Linked DNA regions of Homo sapiens: all the other regions are linked to region 3. Evidence: promoter capture Hi-C in 16 types of primary human blood cells and fetal thymus (Javierre and others, 2016). All regions are on one chromosome and are shown on one strand. The core of a region is centred on a gene start or on the middle of the fragment in contact, and the rest is flanking DNA. Distances in the headings are between cores, read along the strand shown. Region 1 holds the start of GLA (galactosidase alpha). Region 2 has its middle 17 kb from the start of HNRNPH2. Region 3 holds the start of ARMCX6 (armadillo repeat containing X-linked 6). Region 4 holds the start of BTK (Bruton tyrosine kinase).

The links. The method cuts DNA at HindIII sites, captures the fragments that hold promoters and counts their contacts. A CHiCAGO score of 5 or more calls a contact.
Region 1: a contact is called between the fragment with the promoter of GLA here and the fragment with the promoter of ARMCX6 in region 3, in 15 of 17 cell types (total CD8 T cells, activated CD4 T cells, M1 macrophages and 12 more). The highest score is 9.3, in total CD8 T cells.
Region 2: a fragment that was not itself captured here is called in contact with the fragment with the promoter of ARMCX6 in region 3 in 1 of 17 cell types (neutrophils); the score reaches 6.6 in neutrophils.
Region 4: a contact is called between the fragment with the promoter of BTK here and the fragment with the promoter of ARMCX6 in region 3, in 13 of 17 cell types (monocytes, total B cells, fetal thymus and 10 more). The highest score is 10.6, in monocytes.

Annotation. Positions count from the first base shown.
Region 1 is chrX:101,406,514-101,409,483 of GRCh38, reverse strand. GLA (galactosidase alpha) reads left to right here and starts at 1,559. Exons shown (of 7, transcript NM_000169.3): 1 at 1,559-1,774. The coding sequence starts at 1,581. The region is part of intron 3 of RPL36A-HNRNPH2 (RPL36A-HNRNPH2 readthrough); the gene reads right to left. It overlaps HNRNPH2 (heterogeneous nuclear ribonucleoprotein H2), which reads right to left and starts at 1,262. Exons shown (of 2, transcript NM_019597.5): 1 at 1,165-1,262. The HindIII fragment of the contact is 11,084 bases long and covers 1-2,970 here.
Region 2 is chrX:101,423,926-101,426,766 of GRCh38, reverse strand. It overlaps a transcript of ARMCX4 not described here. Among named protein-coding and RNA genes, the nearest start is that of HNRNPH2, 17 kb to the right of the region's middle. The HindIII fragment of the contact is 2,367 bases long and covers 138-2,504 here.
Region 3 is chrX:101,616,750-101,619,906 of GRCh38, reverse strand. ARMCX6 (armadillo repeat containing X-linked 6) reads left to right here and starts at 1,907. Exons shown (of 3, transcript NM_019007.4): 1 at 1,907-2,022; 2 at 2,323-2,404; 3 at 3,141-3,157. The HindIII fragment of the contact is 4,525 bases long and covers 1,417-3,157 here.
Region 4 is chrX:101,384,681-101,387,489 of GRCh38, reverse strand. BTK (Bruton tyrosine kinase) reads left to right here and starts at 1,299. Exons shown (of 19, transcript NM_000061.3): 1 at 1,299-1,428. RefSeq lists an enhancer at 1,813-2,032. The HindIII fragment of the contact is 7,609 bases long and covers 1-2,465 here.

The sequences.
Region 1 (2,970 bases), core at 310-2,809, 210 kb after region 3:
TCAGCAAAAAAAGTAACATAAAACAAATTAAAATGTTTGCATTTCTGGGATTTGGTATAGGAAATTTTATAAAATTTTCTAATTTTGTATGTGGATGGTTTATCTGAAATGGTCTGGGAGCACTGGGCCTCTTGGAAACAAAGTACAAAGTGTAATAACGGCCATAAAACTACACTGAGGAAACGATTTAACAAACATTTACTGATTGCCGATTATGTGCCTAGCACACTGCATCTGCAGTGATAACAGTTTTCCTATTAACCATCCTAAGGTCTCAGTGACAGATTTACAAGCTGTTTTTTTATTTCATTTTGCAGGATTTTTTTTTTTTTTTTTGCTTGCCTTATCCCTGGGATAACCCGTCCCATTTAATTCCCTGCACCGCTCTATTCCTTAAGAGCCCTTCTGTAGGGGCAGAGAGGTTCTACTTCATTACTGCGTCTCCTGGGAAGGCCATCAGGACTGCTGGCTAAAGTGGGAACCAGGACTCTTTGTGAGTTAAGAATTTGTGTATTTATATGTGTGTTATACACATTTTTTAAAAAACTGTAACGACATCAGGTTGAGCAGTCGTCTCCGGGTGGTGAATTATGTGTATTTTTAAATTTTATACTATATTGTTATTTTTCAAATGTTCGAAATTGAATATGTAGATTGTTGTTATCAGCAGAAAAATAAACATTATTCAAATACTCTATTCAGTAAAGTAATTTATTGGGCGCCTTTGTCAAGCACGCATTTGCCTAGATGTGACTCTACAGATAAAATTCACTTGGGGCCTCCCCTTACAGACAATCAGGCAGTGGAGACTGAGTGCCTGAATGGATAGACCAGCACTCAGACCACTATTTTCAGTATCTGTTTTTCTTAACTCAGGGCCGTGGTTTTCAAACGTTTTTCGCCTTACGGTCACCCTTAGGGGTCCCCCGAGACCGGCCCAGACAGACAGATATACAAAAACACATACACAGTCATGAGCGTCCACCATTTCCCCACCAGGCGCAGCACAGGCGGCTTCCCGGCACTGAGATGGGGGGGAGGAGGGAGAGAGCGCGAGGGGGGAGGGGAAAGCAGAGAACGAAAGAGGCGGAGGCGGCCCCCGAACCCCGCTCTGGTCTTCATCATCACCACCCCTGGGTCCCCAGTTCCCACCCACACACCAACCTCTAACGATACCGGGTAATTTTCCTCCTTCTTCCCTCAAACGGCTATAGCGAGACGGTAGACGACGACCAGAACTACTTCTGCTCACGTAAGCGAGTAATCACGTGAGCGCCTACGTCATGTGAGATCTCGGTCACGTGAGCAACTCTCGGCTTAAACTCGGGATCACTAAGGTGCCGCACTTCCTTCTGGTATGGAAATAGGGCGGGTCAATATCAAGAAAGGAAGAGGGTGATTGGTTAGCGGAACGTCTTACGTGACTGATTATTGGTCTACCTCTGGGGATAACCGTCCCAGTTGCCAGAGAAACAATAACGTCATTATTTAATAAGTCATCGGTGATTGGTCCGCCCCTGAGGTTAATCTTAAAAGCCCAGGTTACCCGCGGAAATTTATGCTGTCCGGTCACCGTGACAATGCAGCTGAGGAACCCAGAACTACATCTGGGCTGCGCGCTTGCGCTTCGCTTCCTGGCCCTCGTTTCCTGGGACATCCCTGGGGCTAGAGCACTGGACAATGGATTGGCAAGGACGCCTACCATGGGCTGGCTGCACTGGGAGCGCTTCATGTGCAACCTTGACTGCCAGGAAGAGCCAGATTCCTGCATCAGGTATCAGATATTGGGTACTCCCTTCCCTTTGCTTTTCCATGTGTTTGGGTGTGTTTGGGGAACTGGAGAGTCTCAACGGGAACAGTTGAGCCCGAGGGAGAGCTCCCCCACCCGACTCTGCTGCTGCTTTTTTATCCCCAGCAAACTGTCCCGAATCAGGACTAGCCCTAAACTTTCTCTGTGTGACCTTTCCTGGGATGGGAGTCCGGCCAGCGGCCCCTGTTTCTTTCTCTCTCTCTCTCTCTCTCGTTCTCCTTCTCTTTCTCTTTCTCTTCTTTCCTCTCTCTTTCTCTCTCTCCCTGCCCGGTTCTCTTTTTTCACTGCTCCTTGCAGAGCAGGGCCACCCCATAGGCAGTGTGCCCAAAGTAGCCCTGCCCGGTTCTATTCAGACCCTTCTTGTGAACTTCTGCTCTTCCTCTGCCGGGTGCTAACCGTTAGAACATCTAGGGTGGGTAGGAGGAATGGGGAACTAAGATTCGTGCCATTTTTTCTCCTTTTGGGGTCGTGGATTTCTCGGCAGTATCTCGAGGGAGTTAGAGAGACCATAAGGTCGCTGAGATCTCTCCCACCTCGCCCATGAGCGTGGCATCAGGCTGGAAGGTTGACATGGAGGAACTTTATACATTTACACCTTTGCGTGAGGGTTGAGGCTGGATTAGATAGGTATTGAACATATCTGACCCTCACAATCCTTATCTGTAAATTGGGATTACAACCTTTTAATTTCAGGGAGCTGACAAAAAAAATCTGAAAAATAGTTCTTATCTCACACAGGTGAGTTTTCAAGGAGATAACCTATTTAAAGTACATAGCACAGCGCTTGACCATTCAACTGCGCTTACAGAGCAAATGTTCAATGGGAAAATGAATGTAAATCTACAAATCTGAATGAATATGTGTATTTTTCTGGAGAGAGGATATTTACCTTTCTTCAAATTCTCAAAGGGCTCTGTGATTTAAAAAAGGTTAGGAATCACTGATAGATGTTGGTAAAAGGTGGCAGTCACAGTACATTTCTGTGTCCATAAGTTATTCCTATGAATATCTTTATAGATAAAGTCAGGATGTTGGTCAGACATCACAGAAGAAATTGGCCTTGTAAGTTTCATGTGACCCTGTGGTACAGTATGTGTGGCAATTTTGCCCATCACGGATTTTTTTTTATTGGTATTTGCATCTGATTATAAAACTAATGC
Region 2 (2,841 bases), core at 72-2,571, 190 kb after region 3:
GACACAACTTTGCTGTACCTCCATTTTACCATCTGTGACAAGGGGGTGATAATAATAATACCTACCTCATAGAGCTGCTTTGGGGATTAAATAAAACACTAGAACACTTAGAGAAGCACTTAGAAAAAAATAAAGCTTGGCTCATAGTAAATTTACCATCAACAACCAGAAGTGAGCCATCAACATTTCTCAGCAGTCCTTCTATTTTTCTCTGGTCAACCTACAACCTGCTCTCACCCTTACAACTCATTGAACCTTCTCCATTCTCTTCAGCCTTCCAACTCCTCCTCCTTATTATCTCTACATGCAGATGACCACACCCTCATTTACAGAAAAAATAACGGGGTTGGGGGAGCCTTTAGAAGGAAGTTGTCTCTCATCTTCCTAACACCAAACATAAACCAACTATACCTGCACACATCCTACCAGCAGTTAGTTCCTCAATTAAGACAGAGATGCTCTTGCCTTTTAGTGAACACTAATTCCTCCACCTATGCTTTCGATTCCAGATGCTCCTCTCTCTTAGCAAACGTACTCTATGATTTATCCCATCTCTCTGCTGTATTTTTAACCACTCACTCCCTACAGACCCTTAATTGTAAACTTTACACATCCACAAAATTTCTCCATTAAAAAAAGTCCTTGGCTGGGTGCAGCAGCTCAAGACTGTAATCCCAGCACTTTGGGAGGCTAAGGCAGGCAGATTGCTTGAGCCCTGGAATTCGAGACCAGACTGGGTAACATGGCAAGACCCCATGTCTACAAAAAATGCAAAAATTAGCCCAGCGTGGTGGTGTGCGCACCTCTAATCCCAGCTACTCAGAAGACTGAAGTGGGAGAATCGCCTGAGCCCAAGAAATCAAGGCTGCAGTGAGCTGTGATTGTGCCACTGCACTCCAGCCTGGGCAACAGCGTGAGACCCTGTCTCAAAAAAATAAATAAATAAATAATTTGAAAGGCCTCTCTTGACCCGTAGTCTCGCTCCTGCTTCTACCCTGACTTTTCCATGCCCTTCACAGCCAAAGTGCTTCAAATAGCTGCCTATATTCTTTGTTTCCATTACTTGCCTACCGGCTGGGCGCAGTACCTCACACCTGTAATCCCAGCACTTTGGGAGGCTGAGGTAGGCGGATCACCTGAGGTAAGGAGTTCAAGACCAGCCTGGCTAACATGGTGAAACCCCGTTTCTACTAAAAATACAAAAAATTAGTCGGGCATGGTGGTGTGCGCCTGTAATCCCAGCTACTCGGGAGGCTGAGGCAGGAAAATTGCTTGAACCCGGGAGGCGGAAGTTGCAGTGAGCCGAGATCGCACCATTGCACTCCAGCTTGGGCAACAAGAGTGAAACTCCGTCTCAAAAAAAAAAAAAAAAAGTGCCTTCCTCTCTCTGCTAACCACACTCCAATCTGTTCCATTCTAGATTTCTGCCCCGTCATTCCATGAAAATAGATCCATCCAGGACACCAATGCCTCCATATTCTTAAATGCAACACATATTTACCAGTCCACATCTTATTTGACCTCTGAGCAGCAATGGACATTGTTAACAGTCCATTCCCTACATCTTGAAACAGTTTCTTTCTTTGGCTTCAATGACACAAGTCCCTCCTAACTTTCTTTTAAACCTCCCTGGCTGCTGTTTCCCAGTCTCCTTTGCAGGCTGACTCTCCTGTACTCCACATGAAATACTGGAGTTTCTCAAGCCTCCTTCTTTGATCTCCTGCATTCTCACTCTGATACTCTTTGGCCTAGACAACCTTATCCCCACACATGGCTTGAATTATCAACTATATCCATATAGCACACAATTTATATATCCAATATATAGGCCCCTTCTGAGCTCTAGATCCATCCATCCAACTACCTATATTCTCTTGGGTGTTCTCAAAGGCACGTCAAACACAGTATGTCTAAGACTAAACTCACAGTCCTCATACCTGAACTTAGTATTCAATGTGATCTTAAAGGTCCTGCTTCTTAATGCTGTTACTCCAAACATCCAGTTGTACAAGCCAGAAACTGAGAAGTCACCCTTGACCGCTCACTCTCACTGTAAGATACAGGGGGGAGTAAACAAAATGTGGATTTTCCTATACTCTCTATTTAATATAGAATGCTTCTGTAGCCCCAGATGTATGGGAGAATTTTCCCATACATCAAGCAATCAGTTTTGCAGTGGACACCAGCTGGATGTCCTCTAATTGAATTCAGTTCTGTTACTACCTACCTGGAGATAGTGTCAGATCCCACAGTTTGAGAGCTCAGGCTCACAAGACTGCTCTCCACTTCAGATGCCAGGTTGTAAGCTATGCTTCTGACTGACCCACTGTAAATCAGGGTTCCCATGACCCTCCCCTTGGGTTTGATTAATTTGCTAGAGAGGGTCACAGAACTCTGAAAAACATGTTTACAGGTTTATTATAAAGGATATTACAAAGCATATAGATGGACAGCCAGATGGAACAATCACATAGGACAAGGTACAGGATAAGGGGCACCAAGCTTCCATGCCCCCTACAAGCACAGCACCCTCTAGGTACCTCCATGTGTTCGCTATCCAGAAGCTCTCCAAACCCAATTCTTTCGGGTTTTTATAGACTTTACAGCCAGGCACGGTGGCTCACGCCTGTAATCCCAGCACTTTGGGAGGCCGAGGTGGGTGGATCACATAAGGTCAGGAGTTCGAGACCAGCCCCACCAACATGGCAAAACCCTGTCTCTACTAAAAATACAAAATTTGCCAGGCGTGGTGGTGCATGCCTGTAATCCCAGCTACTTGGGAGGCTGAGGCAGGAGAATCGCTTGAACCCGTGAGATGGAGGTTGCAGTGAGGCAAGATCA
Region 3 (3,157 bases), core at 658-3,157:
ATTAAGCTTTACATACTCCTTAGTTTTTTCTAATGTATATATTCAAAACAAACAAAAGCCACTTATACAACTACCTAGCAGCCAAACACTGAATGATGGACTGTTGAATCTGAGAGTTCTGTTAGTAAGCCTTCATAAGTATAATTCACTTGTCTAGGGGAAGTTAATAAAGGGTCATGAAAAAAAAATGAGGTAAAGATTTAGAGAGATAAGATGTGATATTGGTGAGTTTGGACTATAAAAGGGGAAGACCAGAAAGTTGTGACATATTGACTTCTGAATATTCACCAGCAAGGCACTAGGACTCCCTGGCTTGCCTCCTGAAAGGGCCTCCTCCACACAGGAGCCCCTCACTGGGGAGCCCCTCCCTCTGGGGTGTCATATTTCAATGTTCTAAGAGGTTGCCTGGAGTGTCTATATTTAGAGTATGACTCCTCAGCAGGGACAGGTGGATGCATGAGGACTAACTTCTGCATACTTGGTCCCTGAGTTTTGGGATTATTCTGAGGGGCTTGTACTGGTGGCTCAATGAAGTTGTAATAGAAGGCAGGAAATGAAAAGTCCTCTTTTTTTCTGGCAACTGCTTGAGATCCTGTGCATTGCCCTTCCACTTGTGAGGGGAAAAAATGACACAGACATCAGGGGTGTTGCACTGATTCCCAGTCACCCACAGACCCTCACCACCATCTCCACTGGAAAATGCTGAACACTCACCACTGCTAGGGTAGCATAAAATACATGAATGGCAGACAACAGAGAGATCGCCAACAGTGTCATGATGGAAAGAAAATTACCTCTATCAAGTCTCATTTTCATCAATAGGATAACAGGAAATTCTCTAATTTCTGGAAGATTTATAGGTTGCACCACAAACTTCAGAATAGATTGTAAATAAAGCCCTGTGAATGAAAGGCAGGCTAATCTGTGGAGTCACTAATCTGTAAAGTTCATCTGAAGATGTAAGATTCATCTGAAGTTGGGGTCTGCATAAAATCTGTCCTTTGAAGCCAGAGTGAAAGTCACCCAGCAATCTTCTATGAAGATCTCAGTCATCTGACACCTAATACTATGAGTTCAGCCAGGAGAAAGAAAGGGACAATAGTTCACTTACTTAAAATGGTCAAAATTAGAACACTGACCTTCTCGGTATAGATTCATTTATCCATCAATTTATAAATCATGTTGAAAGCACAACTGGTTTTGTTTCTAAGGGTGTGTTTTTACATTTTAATATGTTGTTTGAAAGCTGCTATTTCCTGTGCAGTCCGAAGAAAATATGTTCAACTTGATACAAACTAACTTCATCAAATCAATGAGGCCTCCTATTAACTGGGAAATCTTGCTTATGTTATATATATATATATCTGTAAAAAAAAAAAAAGATTTGAATTATTTCTTCTCCAAGTGGGAAAAGCTTTATTGTTTTTTTCCGATTACAAAATAGTGTAGTTCAAGTCAATAAAAAAGAAAGGACAAAATATAACTTAAATGTTATCAAAATACTAATTAAAATCTCACCACTGCCTGGACTTCCGTTTCTGCCCCCTCACCCAATGTTGGTGTAGAGACTGAACACGGAAAAGTGTAGAAATTTAAGAAAGGGGCTGCAGAAGTTTCAGAGCCAAGGAAAGGATGAGACAATTCCCCAAGAAGTGTAAATGAAGGGTAGACTCAGGAAAAGATGCTGCCCCTTCCTAAAGATGCTGCCCCTTCCTGGAATTAGAGAAACATAAATTCAAACACCAGAAAGACAGGGCCACTTCTGGTTTCTGGTATTGTTACAGAGGAAAAAAGTGACAGGGCCCACTGTGGGGGTTGAGGGGGAGATACAAGGCAGGCTGGCGCCTGCCGCACTGCTTGTGGGAGTGGAAATTGGGGGCCAGAGCGCACTGGTGACGTGGCCGTCACGTGACCAAGAGCCGCCTAGAGCACAAGTCCTGCTAGTCGCCTCCGTCTGGGTACCAGCCCCCTATTACTCTGCAGGCGTGTGAAGAAAGAAGGAAACTAGCTCGGACCGTGCAGGTCGGTGCGAGGGTGGGCGCTGCTTGAGAGGAGGTATGGGTGGAAGAGGGCCAAGAACGCCACAGATCCGAGTTCAGGCCGATCACAGCTGGGTCCCTTTCTCGCCTACTTTCTAAATACTGCTACCCACCCCCACCCCACCCCGTGCTCATTTTAGTAGAGAGAAGTGGCGGGTTTCGGGTGGGGGTGAGGGGAGTGAATGGCGTTTCCAGAGACTCCGAGAAAAGAAAGGTTCTAGTGTCCCGGGTGCTGGTCCGTCCACCAAGCACTCCGTCCCCTCGGTCCCTTGTCTGTTTGCAGGTTTGTAGGTCTGTTGGCCTGTAGGTTTCGGCACAAGTTTCAGCGAGAGAAGGAGAAAACTGCCTTGGTTGGAACCTTGCAGGTCAGTGTGAAGGTGGGATTAGCCCAGGACCATGGGTGGGGGTGGCGGAGGAGGGGGGCTGGGATATGAGAGGGCCAGGTCCGAGTCGCCCTCTCCTGGCCCCTTCTTTCTCCACACCCACTCCCATTTCAGTGCAGGGAAAGGGGTGTGGCGGCCTTTGCTGGGGAAATGGCGGACGACAAGTGGGGCGGAGGAGGCCTGCGTCCGGAAAGTCAGTAGAGTATGAGAAATATTTTAAACTCAAGTGTCTAAAATTCACAAAAACAGAAATTGGGACCTGTGTCCTCAGTTCATCCACTACACTTTCATTTCTCCATTGCCGCCTACCTGTCTTTGCATTTGTCCTTCTGCCAGACTCTATCCTCTATCACCGTGGAGGGACCACTGACAACAGAAGACAAGGGAAAACGAAGGAATTTATCTGACTTTGGTAGAGGTTAATGAGAGAAACTGCCCTTAATCTTTGGGGGTGGAGGTCTGGTGTAGGAGACTACCTGAGAGGTACTCACACTGTCACCCTCCTAGCTATCATAGCAGAGACCCATCTCCTGCCCTTCCCTGTGGACCCAGGAAGAGAAATGGGGGCTCCTGAGGTCGATAGAGGAAGACAGAAAAGAAAAGAACAAAGAAATTGTATCCTGTTAATCTGCCTTTATCACCAACTCGAAATCCACCCTGTCTGTGAGGCACAAAGCCAAACATAGTCCCGAGCCCTAATACTCTGTTTCACCCACAGATTCATCACAAGAGAGC
Region 4 (2,809 bases), core at 50-2,549, 230 kb after region 3:
GTCCCAGGTACTAGGGTGACTGAGGTGAGAGGATCACTTGAGCCCAGGAGGTGGAGGCTGCAGTGAGCCATGATCACGCCACTGCACTCCAACCTGGGCTTCAGAGCAAGACCCTGTCTCAAAAAAAAAAAAAAAAAAAAAAGGTCCCAGGGCCTGTTGGGGCTTGGGGGTGAGGGGAGGGATCTTAGAGGATGGGTCAATAGGTGCAGCAAATCACCATGTCACACATATACCTATGTAACAAACTTGCACCTTCTGCACATATACCCCATTTTTTTTGTTTGCTTGTTTGTTTGTTTTTTAGACAAAATAAAGAAAAAAAAATAAGGTCCTGTTGACTTAAAACTTCGGATGAAATTGTAGTGGGACCTGTGATCTGTTTCTACATTAGGATACAGTGCCTTGGGGCAAGGAAATATGGCAGTGCCCGAGGTGTCAAGGTGGGCAGGCAGATCAGTCAGCAGGGGCTCCACCATCATGGTCTGCATTCAATACTGGCTGCATTTCCTAGGAGAATCCCTGGGGGAATCATTGCAGTTGGAGCATAATGTAGGGGGCCCCTGAGAAAACCTCCAGGCTTCAAGTGACATACCTAGTCTGCTTTACCGGTTTACAGGACTCAAGAGAAAGGTGGACATTGAGAGTTAATCCCTGAGGCCAAATCTTAAATGGAGAAAGTCAACATCCACAGAAAATGGGGAAGGGCACAAGTATTTCTGTGGGCTTATATTCCGACATTTTTATCTGTAGGGGAAAAATGCTTTCTTAGAAAATGACTCAGCACGGGGAAGTCTTGTCTCTACCTCTGTCTTGTTTTGTCCTTTGGGGTCCCTTCACTATCAAGTTCAACTGTGTGTCCCTGAGACTCCTCTGCCCCGGAGGACAGGAGACTCGAAAAACGCTCTTCCTGGCCAGTCTCTTTGCTCTGTGTCTGCCAGCCCCCAGCATCTCTCCTCTTTCCTGTAAGCCCCTCTCCCTGTGCTGACTGTCTTCATAGTACTTTAGGTATGTTGTCCCTTTACCTCTGGGAGGATAGCTTGATGACCTGTCTGCTCAGGCCAGCCCCATCTAGAGTCTCAGTGGCCCCAGTCATGTTGAGAAAGGTTCTTTCAAAGATAGACTCAAGATAGTAGTGTCAGAGGTCCCAAGCAAATGAAGGGCGGGGACAGTTGAGGGGGTGGAATAGGGACGGCAGCAGGGAACCAGATAGCATGCTGCTGAGAAGAAAAAAAGACATTGGTTTAGGTCAGGAAGCAAAAAAAGGGAACTGAGTGGCTGTGAAAGGGTGGGGTTTGCTCAGACTGTCCTTCCTCTCTGGACTGTAAGAATATGTCTCCAGGGCCAGTGTCTGCTGCGATCGAGTCCCACCTTCCAAGTCCTGGCATCTCAATGCATCTGGGAAGCTACCTGCATTAAGTCAGGACTGAGGTGGGTCTGGGGTATGGCAGGGGCTGGGCAGCAGCAGCAATGTACCTTGCTTGGGACCCCTAAAAACCAGAGAGACAGCATGGCTGGTGCCATTTATCAGCTAGTGGAGGAGGCTGACGGAGGGTGGGAGTGTCATCAGCACAAGGCCCTGGCAGTCCCTTCTGGTGATTAGAGAGGCCGAAAGGGTCCTTTCCGACAAGGGCTGAGGGTGGGCGGAACAGGAAGAGAAAAATGTGACATGAGGTGACCATCCGAACAGGTAGCAAATGTTAGAAAGGGGTACCTCTGGCAAACTTAGTGGAAAAGTAATATTGCAGGGAGCAGTCAGATAAAAACAAGCCCTTCTGTCAAATAGTGCTTGAAGACTCAATAGGGATACATGGGTCAATGAAGCCTTTAGAAAAAGAAATACTAAGAGGCAGATTCTCTGAGAACATGGTAAAAGCTCACGCTCCACGTTATGAAGTTGACCTTTGTGAGCTAGGGAAAGGCCTGGCTAGGCCAGGGTGTAGGCTACCTGCCTTGAGCTGTACCAGGCCAAATGTCGCCAGGGTCAGAGCTGGCTTATTAAAGGACTGTGTGGAAGCTGTGCCAACCTCGTGGTAACAATGGGTAAAAGACTGGGCCAGGAGAAAGCAGCCTCTGCCTCAGCCCAGACAGTGCGGCCAACCCTTGAGGTTGTGGCAAAGGTTTCTCCTCTTACCATTGCCCTCCATGTGCATGGCTTGCTTTTCTCTTGTCTTCATTATTTCTCCTTTCCTTTCCTCCTCTCCAACCTCCTCCTCTTCCCACTCATCCTCTTTTCTCTACCTATATCCCCTCTTCATTATACCCTCCTCTGTTCTGTTGATTACCAGACCCTGACATACAGTTAGCACTTAACAAATAATTGCCGAATTGCATTGACTTTTTCTTGCTCCTTTCTTCCCCCGCTCTTTTCCCTTTTCCTTTCCCTTTCCATTTCCTCCTCCCTGCCTGCCTAGCACCTTCCCCATAAGGTGGTTGTGAGCAGTAAATGTGCAAATACATGTAAAGCTTTTAAAACAGGGCCTGGCAATAGTAAGTGCTGGATCTCAGTATTTGCTATAATTTTTACTCTGCCTCAGACCTGCCAATGTCCCCCAGAGGGCCTACCTAGAGCAAATAATATGACATTTAGAATAAAAGTGATTGGTGACCCCAATCAAGACATCCTTGGATAAGTTGCCCAGACTCCAGCCTCTCTGGAGCCTCAGTTATTTGATAAAATAATGTCACTTTCCAAATAAGCCACAAAATGCAAATACTCATGGCAACCTAAAGCATTATACCCAAACAGTGTCCCTTAGGGCTTGTCCTGTCTATTCTGACTCCTTTTATATTCAAACTATTTAAACTGCTT